Regions from separate parts of the Homo sapiens genome. Here regions 1 and 2 are each linked to region 3. Evidence: promoter capture Hi-C in human tissues and cell types (Jung and others, 2019). All regions are on one chromosome and are shown on one strand. The core of a region is centred on a gene start or on the middle of the fragment in contact, and the rest is flanking DNA. Distances in the headings are between cores, read along the strand shown. Region 1 overlaps QRICH1 (glutamine rich 1). Region 2 overlaps LOC124909377 (a long non-coding RNA gene). Region 3 holds the start of C3orf62 (chromosome 3 open reading frame 62).

Region 1 (2,700 bases), core at 172-2,671, 200 kb before region 3:
ACCTGAACCTGCTGCGGCTGCTGAACCTGGATCTGCTGTTCTTGCTGGGTTTGTGGCTGAACACTGGTGGTGACTGGACAGGCAAGTTCAAGCAAAGACCCAGCCACTTCAGTGCTGTCTGTGTATATGCAGTTCCCACCCTGTTGGTACACCATGGTAGTGGTGGCTGTCTGCTGGAACTCCTGAAGGGCTTCTGGCCCCTTAGAGGCCAGTGAGTCCAGAAATTCCTTCATCCTGTGTTGCGGGACAGACCGTGCCTTTACTCGGATGTACTCTTCAAAGGAGATGGTGTTCTCTAGGGAATTATTCATATTGCAGAGTCCTTAGGGTTCCTAGAAATAAACAGAAGTCAAAATTATGTTACTGTTTTTAGCAGGAAATGCCCAGAAGCAATTACCCTTGCACAAGAGTGGAATATATTCAGGGCAGCTGTATACATATAGAATCAAAAAATAAAGTTTTATTATACCACCTTATTTTTTCAATTAATGGATGTTTGAAAATTATTTCTATTAACATTTCTTAAATAAAACTATCACACTGAAAACAAAAAAACAAACACATGCTTCACAATACTGGATGAAACAGGCTGAAAACACACTTCCTACCCAGCACTAGGTCAATCCCATCTTCTCTGCAGAGCCAAGCACTGGACAGTAAATGTCACATGCAAAACTGCTCTGTGACCATCACAGAGAGGACACCAAGCAAGGAGGAAGCTAGGGGCAGGGATTCCTATGGATATGTTTTATTTCCAAGTATTTCCTACAGCAGAGATAGGTATGCCACCTAGTTGTGGCAAGACACAAGAGGCAGAGGATATGTTCTTCATCTCCCATCAGAAAAACCAAAAATCCTATTTTGCCATGTGGTGCTCACATTCTTTTGCAACACAGCTTACTACTGGTTAAAAGCATGGACTCTGGAGCCAGGCTGCCTGGGTTCAAATCCCAACTTTATGTCTCCTTTATTATGTAACTCTAGAAAAGTCAATTAACCTTAGTTTTCTTGTGAGTAAATGGGGACACAATAGTACTTACCTCACAGTTGACATAAGGATTAAATAAGGCATTTAGAAAATCATCTAGCACATAGATAGCACTACAGAAATGTAACTAATACTATTAAAATAATTCTGGAAAAAAGGTAAATAGTGCTTTAAATATCCAGGTCACTACTAAAATTCAGAAATAAATTCTACAAGTTTTCATCAGGTATTTAATTACCTTAAGAATTAACCTGCAGACGTACAGTTAACTCTCATCATCTGAGGGAAAAGTGTGCAATCTGTGGACTGCTGACCCCTGTCGCTGCTACCTTTGTACCATCCTCCCTTCAACAGCCCGACCTCCAGAACAAAAGTAGCAGCAGGATGAAAGAGTAACAGAAAACAAGCGAACGTTTTTGCCAAAAAGGATTATCAGACAATTCTGAATGTCTGGAAAGGTGATTTGTTCCCTTGAGCAATCAGGATAGATACACTAGACTGACCAGATGCTCTACCTTATGTTACAGATATAAAATATGTGGGTAAACGTCTCCTTTCTTCTACCTAGGCTCTAAGTTCTTGGTAGACAAGACTATGTCCTGGTTCTCTCCGAATAGCTCACCCATGGTAGTTGCTTCATATATACCTGCTGCATTTGAAATTCAATGTGGAAAACGAAGAATTATGGTTCCTTTTTTTTTTTTTTTTTTTTTTTTTTGAGATGGAGTCTCATTCTGTTGCCCAGGCTGGAGTGCAGTGGCTTGATCTTGGCTCACTGCAAGCTCCACCTCCTGGGTTCACACCATTCTCCTGCCTCAGCCTCCCGAGTAGCTGGGACTACAGGCGCCCACCACCACGCCCAGCTAATTTTTTTGTATTTTTAGTAGAGACGAGGTTTCCCCATCTTAGCCAGGATGGTCTCGATCTCCTGACCTCGTGATCCGCCTGCCTCAGCCTCCCAAAGTGCTGAGATTACAGGCGTGAGCCACCACACCTGTCCTTTTTTTTTTTTTTTTTTTTTGAGTTGGAGTCTCCCTCTGTCGCCCAGGCTGGAGTGCAGTGGCACGATCTCGGCTCACTGCAGCCTCCCAGGTTCAAGTGATTTTCCTGCCTCAGCCTCCCGAGTAGCTGGGACTACAGGTGCCCACCACCATGCCCAGCTAATTTATGTATTTTTAGTAGAGACTGGGTTTTGCCATGTTGGCCTGGCTGGTCTCAAACTCCTGACTTCAGGTGACCCTCCCGCCTCGGCCTCCCAAAGTGCTGGGATTATAGACGTGAGCCACCCAATTGGTTTCTGTAATATCCATAGCTCCACGGACTCAAGCAATCCTTCCACCTCAGCCCAGGCAACATGGAGAAACCCCATCTCTACAAAAAATATATAAAAATTAACTGGGTATGGTGGTATGCACCTGTAGTCCCAGCTACTACGGAGGCTAAGGTAGAAGGATTGCTTGAGCCCAGAGATCGAGGCTGCAGTGACCCGAGATCACTCGAATGCACTCCAGCCTAGGCGACAGAGCGTAACTCTGTCTAAAAAAAACAAACAAACAAACAAACAAAAAAATTAAGTTATCAGCTGGTCACAGTGGTGCACACATGTAGTCTCAGCTACTCAGGAGGCTGAGGTGGAGGATTGCTTGAGACCAGGTCTTTGGGCTGGGAAACCTAGAGAGACTTTCATCTGTTAAAAGAAATAAATAAATAAA
Region 2 (2,700 bases), core at 199-2,698, 140 kb before region 3:
CGGGAGGCGGAGCTTGCAGTGAGCCAAGATCACACCACTGCACTCTAGCCTGGGTGACAGAGCGAGACTCTGTCTCTAAAAAAAATAAAAAATAAAATGATAATAAAAAAAGGGTAATCCCAGCACTTTGGGAGGCCAAGGCAGGCAGATTACAAGGTCAGGAGTTTGAGACCAGCCTGGCCAATGTAGTGAAAACTCATCTCTACTAAAAATAACAAAAATTAGCTGGATGTGGTGGCGGGTGCCTGTAATCCCAGCTACTCAGAAGGCTGAGGCAGGAGAATCGCTTGAACCCAGGAGGTGGCGGTTGTGGTGAGCCGAGATCACGCCACTGCACTCCAGCCTGGGTGACAGAGCGAGACTCTCCCTCTCAAAAATAATAATAATAATACTAAAATAAAAAGAGCCAATTGTTAAATTTTCAGGAATTTTGCAAATAAGTTGTCAAATGGTATGGACTGAAATCAATCATGATAGCATTACTTACATCATGGATATTGACAAATGCTAAAAATCAGTTTCCCCTGACTCACAGCCAGTTGTTAAAAATTTATCTACACACATGGCCAGATGCGGTGGCTCACGCCTGTAATCCCAGCACTTTGGGAGGCGAAGGCGGGTGGATCATGAGGTCAGGAGTTCAAGACCAGCCTGGCCAAGATGGTGAAACCCCGTCTCTACTAAAAATACAAAAAAAAATTACAGTGTGCCTGTAATCCCAGCTACTTGGGAGGCTGAGGTGGGAGAATCGCTTGAACCCGGGGGGCGCAGGTTGCAGTGAGCCGAGATTGCACCACTGCACTCCAGCCTGGGTGACAGAGCAAGACTCCCTCTCAAAAAAAAAAAAAAAATTTACGCACACACTAGTGTTCCCACTTGACCCCTGGTCAGCCCTGATGAATATTCCTCATTCTGGAAGGAGTATCATGATAGTGTCCTGCATACCCTATTAACCCTGCCCTTGGCTGTGAACAGACATGCAACAAGCAGATATGTACCCATGAGGAAGCGCTGGATGATCTGCACGGCTGCTTGCATGTGGGTCATGGCAGTCATGCCCCAAGGTCCCCTTTCCCAATACCATGTCTCCTGTGCCTGGATTCCTGTGGAGCTTGCTATGGCCTGGATTTGCTGCAGCTGGTGGGCGTGGGTCAGATGTGGAATATGTTGCCTACAACACCATGTCCAAGCCATGGTTTCCTGTGACTCCCCCATGGCTCCCACCCACAGTCCCCCTGGCTGTGTACCTGTTGTTGATGCTGCTCCAAGGCTGTGACTCTATGTCCAGGCTATGGGAGGAGTTGTGGAAGGCAACAAGAGCCCACTGAACAGTGGGCAGGGTCCCAGGTTGGAGGGAGCAGCCTGTGCCTGCTACAGTACCCAATCTAGGACCTGCAGGTGTCCACCCTGGCCCCTAACACCCCCACCAGGCATCCCCTAGCATAGGGTGGCCACCTCTTGGGCCACAGCTTCCAGCTGCAGTGGGAGCAGAGCCAGGAGTTGGTCTCAGAAGGTGAAGCAGGTGGGACAGGAGGTGCAGTGTGGGAAGGCACCTCTGGAGCCATGAGCACATGCCTGGCACCTCAGCCCTAAGATGCCCTCTCTGAAGAAGCAGGTGCCCATGTGTGAATCACAGCTGGGCAAGATGGAGCCCTGTGGGTCACAGGCACAGGCTGCAGAGGAGAGATAGGGTCAGGGTAGAGAGCAGATGACACTAGCTCTAGCCTTACCTTCGAGAGACCTGAAGGATGGGCCAGGTGCAGTGACTCACACCTGTAACCCCACCACTTTGGGAGGCTGAGGCAGGAGGATCACTTGAGCTCAGGAGTTTGAGACCAGCCTGAGCAACATAGGGAGATCCTGTCTCTACAAAAAAATTTAAAAATTAGCCAGGTGTGGCGGCGTGTGCTGTAGTCTCAGCTACTCAGCAGGATGAGGTGGGAGGATCACTTGAACCTGGGAGGTTGAGGCTGTAGTGAGCTAAGATCATGCCACTGTACTCCAGCCCAGGTGACAGAGTGAGACCCTATTTCTTTTCCTTTTTTTTTTTTTGTGAGACAGAGTCTCGCTCTGTAAGTGTAGTGGTGCGATCTCGTCTCACTGCAACCTTCACCTCCCAGGTTCAAGCAATTCTCCTGCCTCAGCCTCCTGAGCAGCTGTGACTACAGGCAACCGCCAACATGCCTGGCTAATTTTTTTTTTTTTGTATTTTTAGTAGAGACGGGGTTTCACCATATTGGCTAGGCTGGTCTTAAACTCCTGACCTCATGATCTACCCGCCTCGGCCTCCCAAAGTGTTGGGATTACAGGCGTGAGCCACTGTGCCTGACCCATGAGACCCTATTTCTGAAAAAATAATAGGTCTGTGGGAGGCTAAGGTGGGTGGATCACTTGAGCTCAGGAGTTCAAGACCAGCCTGGGCAACATGGAAAAACCCCATCTCTACAAAAAATACAAAAATTAGCTGGACATGGTGGGGCACACCTGTGGTCCCAGCTCCTCAGGAGATAAGGCGGGAGGATCCCTTGAGCCTGGAAGGTTGAGACTGCAATGAGCCAAGATTGTGCCACTGCACTCCAGCTTGGGTGACAGAGTGAGAGCCCGTCTCAAAAAAAAATGTCTGAAGGGGCTGAGCACGGTGGCTCACGCCTGTAATCCCAGCACTTTGGGAGGCTGAGGCGGGCAGATCACGAGGTTAGG
Region 3 (2,700 bases), core at 24-2,523:
AGCGGGGAGCAGAGGCAAAGATGAAGCCAGGAAGTAGGGCCCAGCCTTCAATTAAGCCTCTCCCTAATGTGGGCAAAGGAGGGTATCAAAGGCCCCAGTGTCCAGATTCAAACACAGGAGTTAAGATGGAATTAAGACTTTTGTTTCTGCAACTTAAAAAATAAGGTTATTTTTAAAACCCGGTTATTTTACATCCACTACCCCTTTGGGTACTGCAAAGTGGTTTCCATGACTGGTTTTTGACATCAACGATTGACAACTAGCCCCTCAACTGGAACATATACACAAAATATAACTGTTTCCTAGGCCAGATTCTGAAGAATGTCTGTCAACTCCCCAAATGCAGTCACAGAGCTGCCAAGAGGAGGCAAGAGCACTGTCATGAACTAAATCTAGGATCTTCAACAACTTTTTCAGAAACAAGAATCCCCTTAATTGTAGCTGTTAAACCATCAAAATTAGAATCACCTTAAATTTTCTTTTCTCCAGTTTTCCCCCTCTCCTGCAGTTCTCCAAGACTCTCTTTCAGGTGCCAAAATGGAGGAATGCATCAATACATTTTCCTTGCTGGTTAGAGGTTTTCTCTCGGGGCACAGAGCATGTGGTTTTGCATTTACCGGGGCATGGTTTGTTGCAAAGGCAGGGTTCTCATTCTCAGGAGCACATGGGACAGCAGCAAAAGGAGCAGCAGAAGAGCAGGCTGCCAGAGGATGTCTTCTGCAGAGGAGCCTGTGCACGGGCAGCGAGAAGGAGAGCGGCGCGGCGCTCAGTTCCAGCCTCTGCTGGCCTGTGCACTCCTGGGAATAACTAACTCCTTCAAAGGCCCGGTCAATGGCTGCAGTCAGTTCCTTTCTGCATCTTCTTAGTTTTTCAGACATTTCTCCTAAAAGCGACCATGTCTTTATGTAATGCATTGGAAATGCACAGGACAACACAATAATGTTACAAATGAGGCTGCAAACTACCCCTGAATGGCCACGATTTCCTGGAGCTTGGCCCTGGCTATAGCAGGACCCACAACCCTCGGGCTTTCCTCCTGGAGTAGGCGGTTCTCGGCTCTCGCGGAGGAACCCGCCATCTGCCAGAAGCCCCAAAGACGCCCCGCCCCACTTCCCACAGCTTCCTGGCCCGCCCCGCCGCTGCCTCCCGCCCCACCGCGGCTCCCAGGCCGCTGGCCCTACCGGCACCCCCCCTTTGGCGAGTCGGCAGCCACGTCCTTGTCCTCACCCGCAGCGCAGTGACGCCGACCCATCCAACGGTCATCGCATGCGCGTGCCCCGCGCAGGCCCCAAACCCCCACGGATTAGGTTGAAGGTCAGACAAAAAATCCCGGACCCATACGTCCGGTTCCTTAAGGCCTTGCCCACACGCAGCGGCTGGCCCCGCGGTGGGAGTGGGGACGGGGCTTTCGAATGGGGGCCCCGGGAAGAGTCTTGGCAGGGATGAGGAAAGAACCCGTTCTAGAAAGCATCTGGGTAACACCAAAATGTATTACTACCCTAAATCGCCATGAACTGGAGCCCTTTCCCGGCTAACTCCCACAAAGATTTCTGTTCTCAAGCCAACATGGAAACAACTAGACGGGACACAGCACCGGGCAGTTTTATGTACTGACTTCCTTTAAGCGTTATCTAATAAAAAGTGTGTTATCTAATAAAAGTTCCACACAGTATTTAACCGTCTTAATTCATCTAGGGTAGCAGGGGATATAACAGAACTGCTGGGTTCCACAGGAGGTTGAGGGGCCAGGATCCCCAACACTAGATATCTTCCTTAGCGGGGAGAAAGCTGGAAATTACAAGATGACTCAACGGAGAAATGGGCTTCAGTGGGTAACTTTCAGAAAATTATAAACCCATATCAGTGCACATAGCGAGGGAAAGGGGAGTTTACTTGAGGTTTGGGTTACTGTGAGCAGACTACTTGGGGTGACTAGTATTGGCATCAGAACCAGAAATCCAGGCGCTCAGGGCAGCCCTGCAGGTGGGGTGGGTCTCCAGGCTGCTCCATACTCAGCGCCTGTGTTCCTCTCCATTCTTCGGGATCCATCAGACATACTCCATTGAGTACCCCCATCCCACCCCCTTTTCAGCTTCACAGGTTTCACAGAAATTTCTCACCACCTGTTTAAAAATAAAAATAATTCAGCCTCTTGACATAGCTTCTTCTAGGTAAACGGTCTTCTTTTTTTTTTTTTGTTTCCTTCTGCTCATAAAAGAAGGGTATTTCCTTGTCTGGTTTTTAGACAGAACACTAGCAGTCTGCAGAGTGTCAAAGATGTTCTCCTGGGGGATTACACTGGCGCTACAGGGTGGCAGGATCGTGGAGTCAGCATTAGTTGGTGTCCATGCTGCAAGCCTCATCATCCCCAAAGCCCTGCTGAGAGCTGCTTGGTCGTGTCCCTCCATCAGAGGAACCAGAACTGCTAAGTGAAGGTGTCTTATAAAATTCATCATCTCGACGTTGGTAAAATAGCACATAAGCTGCTTTAGTCTGAAATACAAGAGGGGGAAAGACCATTCAGTGCTTGGAAAAATCACCCATTTTCCCCAGCTTTTCTCTAGCTGTCCAAAACCCTCAAGGATCTGCCATATCCACACAGAGGAGACCCTTCCACCTGAGGATGGCTGCCCCTGCCAGGCAGCAGGAAATGGAAGGAGCCTTGTGCAGAGAACTCTGAGGAGAGCTGAGCTTCTCATT

What was found. Contacts are between HindIII fragments. The study calls those that stand out against the background at their distance.
Region 1: a contact is called between a fragment that was not itself captured here and the fragment with the promoter of C3orf62 in region 3, in 2 of the 25 tissues and cell types used here (pancreas and stomach).
Region 2: a contact is called between a fragment that was not itself captured here and the fragment with the promoter of C3orf62 in region 3, in 16 of the 25 tissues and cell types used here (IMR-90 fibroblasts, aorta, bladder and 13 more).

What each region holds. Positions count from the first base shown.
Region 1 is chr3:49,076,707-49,079,406 of GRCh38, forward strand. It overlaps QRICH1 (glutamine rich 1), which reads right to left. Exons shown (of 10, transcript NM_198880.3): 2 at 3-332. The coding sequence starts at 311. Among named protein-coding and RNA genes, the nearest start is that of QRICH1, 16 kb to the right of the region's middle. The HindIII fragment of the contact is 7,025 bases long and covers 1-2,700 here.
Region 2 is chr3:49,136,699-49,139,398 of GRCh38, forward strand. All of the region lies in intron 1 of LOC124909377 (a long non-coding RNA gene), which reads left to right. Among named protein-coding and RNA genes, the nearest start is that of LAMB2, 5.0 kb to the left of the region's middle. The HindIII fragment of the contact is 9,716 bases long and covers 1-2,700 here.
Region 3 is chr3:49,275,959-49,278,658 of GRCh38, forward strand. It overlaps C3orf62 (chromosome 3 open reading frame 62), which reads right to left and starts at 1,274. Exons shown (of 3, transcript NM_198562.3): 1 at 469-1,274. The coding sequence starts at 914. USP4 (ubiquitin specific peptidase 4) reads right to left here. Exons shown (of 22, transcript NM_003363.4): 22 at 1,186-2,493. The coding sequence ends at 2,335. RefSeq lists an enhancer at 888-957 and a silencer at 1,098-1,297. The HindIII fragment of the contact is 22,568 bases long and covers 1-2,700 here.